Regions from separate parts of the Homo sapiens genome. Here region 2 is linked to region 1. The links are contacts of gene promoters, found by promoter capture Hi-C in blood cells and fetal thymus (Javierre and others, 2016). All regions are on one chromosome and are shown on one strand. The core of a region is centred on a gene start or on the middle of the fragment in contact, and the rest is flanking DNA. Distances in the headings are between cores, read along the strand shown.

What was found. The method cuts DNA at HindIII sites, captures the fragments that hold promoters and counts their contacts. A CHiCAGO score of 5 or more calls a contact.
Region 2: a fragment that was not itself captured here is called in contact with the fragment with the promoter of CPNE1 in region 1 in 1 of 17 cell types (endothelial precursors); the score reaches 5.3 in endothelial precursors.

Annotation. Positions count from the first base shown.
Region 1 is chr20:35,663,637-35,666,170 of GRCh38, reverse strand. CPNE1 (copine 1) reads left to right here and starts at 1,271. Exons shown (of 16, transcript NM_152925.3): 1 at 1,271-1,411. RBM12 (RNA binding motif protein 12) reads left to right here and starts at 1,271. Exons shown (of 3, transcript NM_006047.6): 1 at 1,271-1,411. RefSeq lists enhancers at 1,303-1,352, 934-1,438, 1,623-1,732, 2,053-2,102, 1,943-2,448 and 1 more and a silencer at 1,410-1,704. The HindIII fragment of the contact is 6,109 bases long and covers 1-2,299 here.
Region 2 is chr20:35,944,568-35,947,101 of GRCh38, reverse strand. The region is part of intron 17 of PHF20 (PHD finger protein 20); the gene reads right to left. Among named protein-coding and RNA genes, the nearest start is that of SCAND1, 8.7 kb to the left of the region's middle. The HindIII fragment of the contact is 1,620 bases long and covers 462-2,081 here.

The DNA of each region.
Region 1 (2,534 bases), core at 22-2,521:
CTCACTGTAACCGCCACCTCCCGGATTCAGGCGATTCTCCTGCCTCAGCCACCCTGGTAGCTGGGACCACAGGCGCCAGCCAGCACGCCCAGCTAATGTTTGTATTTTTAGTAGAGACGAGGTTTCGCCATGTTGGCCATGCTGGTCTTGAACCCCTGACCTCAGGTAATCCGCCCGCCTCGGCTTCCCAAAATGCTGGGATTACAGGCGTGAGCCACTGCGCCCTGCCCTAGATTAAAACTCTTTTTTTGTTTTTTTTTCTGAGACGAAGTTTCGCTTTTGTCATCCAGGGTGGAGTGCAATGGCGCCATCTGGGCTCACTGCAACCTCCACCTCCCGGGTTCAAGCGATTCTCCTGCCTCAGCCTCCCAAGTAGCTGGGACCACAAGCACCGCCACCACACCCAGCTAGTTTTTGTATTTTTAGTAGAGGCTGGGTTTTGCCTTGTTGGCCAGACCGGTCTCGAACTCCTGACCTCATGATCCGCCCTTCTCGGACTCCCAAAGTGCTGGGATTATAGGCGTGAGCCACCGCGCTCGGCCTGTATAAACTTTTTTTTTTTTTTTTTTTTTTTTTGAGATGGAGTCTTGCTCTTTCGCCCAGGCCGGAGTGCAGTGGCGCAATCTCGGCTCACTGCAAGCTCCGCCTCCCAGGTTCACGCTATTCTCCTGCCTCAGCCTCCCGAGTAGCTGGGACTACAGGTGCCCGCCACCACGCCCGGCTAATTTTTTGTATTTTTTAGAAGAGACGGGGTTTCACCGTGTTAGCCAGGATGGTCTCGATCTCCCGACCTCGTGATCCGCCCGCCTCGGCCTCCCAAAGTGCTGGGATTACAGGCGTGAGCCACCGCGCCCGGCCCCCGGCCTGTATAAACTCTTAAATGGGAAAAAAGAATCAGGTTTTGGCTGTTTTGTCAGGATATAATAACTAGCCACCACGTTGTGGTCCATTTAATCCTCAAAAAACTTAGAGGTAAGCACAATTCGCTCCTTCCGCGGAAACTGGAAGACGTGAAGCAATTTGCACAGTCTTGCAGTGAAGGGCCAAGCTAGACACTCATACCCAGCCCACCCGCCAGGGCCACTAGCCCAAGGTCGGTCCTGTGCGCCAACAGTCGCAAGCAGGGACTGAATATCCCCCTCTTAGCACAAAACCCAGTAACTTCCGGGAGATCGCCCGAGACCGTCAGCGCGCTTGCGCGGCCCCTTGACGTCAACCACGCCGTTCCTCCCCCTTCTGGAACGCGGAGCCGCTGAGCGGGCCGACGGCCATTTTGTGAAGCGGCGAAGGAGGTGGTGGCTGCGTTGGGCTCCGGGAAGCCGTTCGGGCTGGGGCTGTCGGCCGCGGGGCGGAGGCACTCGCGCGGGGGGTAATTCGGGGTCTGGGTTCTGGTGCCGCGCAGCTTTCCCCGGTAAGACTCCCGCAGCCCCTGAACGGGTGGGGCTGTGCGGGGCTCGTGGTGCCCCTTGGTGGCCCGGGGCGGGGCCTTCGGAGGCCTTCGAGCCCGCGGCAACTAGCGCCCCACACAAAGGGTCGAGGCAGGGCTGCAGGGGGAGTGGGATGCCACTTAGGCCTCTGAGATCTGAGAGGATGCAAGGAGGACGCAAGAGGATGAGCCTGCGTACCGAAGTGGGGACGAGGCCATAGCGAGGACTCCCCCGTGGTCTGAGAGGGGGCAGGCCAGAGCTGGCTGGCTCAGCGGCCTGCGAGCTAACGGGGACTGCAGTAAAAACACGCCTACATCCCGAGTACGGAGGATTTCTTGTCTCCCCCAGTGAAGCAGAGGTTATAACTACATCTCTGTGCCTGGAGGTGGGGAGATAATCGTAGTGAGGACACTCCTTCAACCCGAAATGGAAAGGAGGCCTTTGTGGCCTACCAGCAAAAGGGGACCCAGGTCACACCTGTGGGGAGGAAGCTGTAGTCGGTACACTCCTGTGAGTTCAGAAAGGAAGTGTCACAACCGGCCGCCTTCGTGGCCTGAAGGTGGAGGGGTTTGCAGTGAAATGCCTCCGAGGTCCATTGCTGGGGAGGGGCTTTACTCGAGGGTGTAGCAGTTTTGAGAAGCCGGCGTCTGAAGCTAGGAGGTGAGGGGGTGGGGTGAGTACGCCTCCTGAGGCTCTGAGAATTGTAGTAAGATGCCAGGCCTTTGGTCCCCCAGTAGGGAAGGGGCTGCTGTGAGCAGCACATTTACGGCTCCCTCGGGAGAGGATCCTGTGGCATTTCAGGAGGACGAGATCCAGTGGGCTGCGGAGGGTGGGTGCTTTTGATGGAGAGTTAATTGAGTTTCTCTGAAGCTTGGCTGCATTAGTTTGCAGCCACGTGAATTGGGTGGTGGGAGGGACTTTGAGGATCTACAGGTTAGTGACGGGGTTGGACGCCAGTGCAGCAGGCTTAGCTGCTAGGTTGTAAACGTACGGGCTTTTTGTGTGCCTCCAACGTGTGCTTTATAGTGACAAATCTGAGGGGCTCTTGTGAGGGTTACTCAGTATTAAGTGCTAAACATTTACTCATCTGCGTGGTGTCATGCTGAG
Region 2 (2,534 bases), core at 22-2,521, 280 kb before region 1:
ACACATTGCCAGAGGCTACTGTTACCAGAGTCTAGAAGTCTTGGAAGGAAGCACCTTTCTGAGTGTTACCACTCACTCTTTAAAAAGCTTTCCCAGCCGGGCGCGGTGGCACATGCCTATAATCCCAGCACTTTGGGAGGTCGAGGCGGGCAGATCACAAGGTCAAGAGATCAAGACCATCCTGGCCAACATGGTGAAACCCCATCTCCACTAAAAATACAAAAATTAGCCAGGCATGGTGGTGCCCGTCTGTAGTCCCAGCTACTCAGGAAGCTGAGGCAGGAGAATTGCTTGAACCCGGGAGGCGGAGGTCGCAGTGAGCCGAGATCGTGCCACTGCACTCCAGCCTGGCGACAAAGCGAGACTCCATCTCAAAAAATAAAATAAATAAAATAATAAAATAAAATAAAATAAAATAAATAAAATAAAATAAAATAAAATAAAATAAAAAATAAAAAGCTTTCCCATGTTGAAAATCAGAGAGCCTGGTGTTTTAGCATCCTGTCAAGAAAAATGAAAATCTATAGGGTCTTGAAAAGGTCTATTTGTATATCATAAACTCTGATTTGCTTCATATTAATTCCTGATTGATACGCAATCATCAGTGGCACAGAATACTCTGTTATTATTTTCTCCCTTTATTTATTTACTTATTTATTTATTTTTTTGAGATGGAGTCTCACTGTGTCGCCCAGGCTGGAGTGCAGTGGCGCCATCTCAGCTCACTGTAATCTCTGCCTCCTAGGTTCAAGCGATTCTCCTGCCTCAGCCTCCAAAGTAGCTGGGATTACAGGCATGTGCCACCACGCCCGGCGAATTTTTGTATTTTGGTCTCAAACTCCTGACCTCAGGTGATCCACCCACCTCGGCCTCCCAAACTGCTAGGATTACAGGCATGAGCCACTGGGCCTGGCCTTTTTTTTTCTTTTGAGACAGAGTTTCGCTCTTGTTGCCTGGGCTGGAGTACAATGGCAATGATCTCGACTCACTGCAACCTCCGCCTCCCGGGTACAGGCGATTCTCCTGCCTCAGCCTCCTGAGGAGATGGTATTACAGGCACACACCACCACGCCTGGCTAATTTTTGTTATTTTTAGTAGAGATGGGGTTTCATCATGTTGGCCAGGCTGGCCTCGAACTCCTGACCTCAGGTGATCCACCTGCCTTGGCCACTTTGAAAGTGCTAGGATTACAGGCATGAACCACCATGCAGGACCCCTTTAAATATTTAATGTAAGATTTCAGGTATTAATTAACATTATCATCATTGGTTCAATATCTAGAAAGCTGTCTTGCTTGTGAGAACAAGTATTTCTCTACAGAAAGATGTTTGTTCTTCCCTAAGCTACCCCCTAAAGCTCTGGCATTTGGGGAGAGACCATCTGGGAACCCTGCACCTTTGACAAGAACCACCCCCTGCAGGTAGCCCCTGTGCTATCCCAGCCTGCCTGTAGCCTTTCTAGTCCATGCACCAACCTGTACTGAGCACCTTCTGGACCCTGGAGTGCAGCAAAAGAAAGGCCCACCCAGTACCTCTTCATCAAGCAGCCTGCAACCTACTGCGCAATCCTCTCCTGTCCTCAGATGCAGCCCTACCTTCCTCTCCACCTTTCTAAATCCTCTGTTTCTTGTGAGCTATTCTTTAGGGAAGCCTTCCCCAACCCTATACCCTGAATCTGGTCCTTGTGTTACAGGTGCTATGATATCACATGTTCTCCTTTGAGCATTTACTATGGTTTGTCATTACAGGTAATGGGATGATTTGTTTAATATATGTCTCTCCCACTAGATCAAGTTCCACGAGGGCAAAGGCTGAGTCTGCCTTGCTTGCCACTATATCCCTAACACTCACCTGTGTCTGAAATGTGGCAAGCCTGCAACAAACACAGCGAGAGAAGGAATGTGTGGTCCAGCAAAGCGCCCTACCCATTGCTCTGGGCCCTATGTAGTTTATCCTCCTCCATCATATTTCTTGTTGGTATTTGGGGGTTCCAAGAAGGAGGAACCCTCTCTCTTCCTAATTCCAGCAAGTACAAGGACTTGGAAATAAGAAAAATAAGACCACCTCCTCAGACTTAAGCTTGAAAACCATTAGTAAAAGATCAGTCATGTGAGAGGAACTAGTGGCCTGCTGAGCAAGAAAACTGGATAGTGACCAGTTTCAAAACACCAGTAAGTCTTTAAAAAAAACTAGAAGGAGACAGGGGACTGTTCAGCAAACAGGCAGAAGAATAAATGGAGAGGCCGGACGTGCACGCCTGTAATCCCAACACCTTGGGAGGTCAAGGGAGGTGGATCACCTGAGGTCAGAAATTCAAGACAAGCCTGGCCAACATGGTGAAACCCCATCTCTATTAAAAATACAAAATCAGCCAGGTGTGGTGGCAGGCATCTGCCTGCTACTTGGGAGGCTGAGGAAGGAAGAGTCGCTTAAACCTGGGAGGCAGAGGCTTCAGTAAGCCGAGATCATGCCACTGTACTCCAGCCTGGGCGAGAAAGAGCAAGACTCCGTCTTAAAAAAATAAAATAAAATAA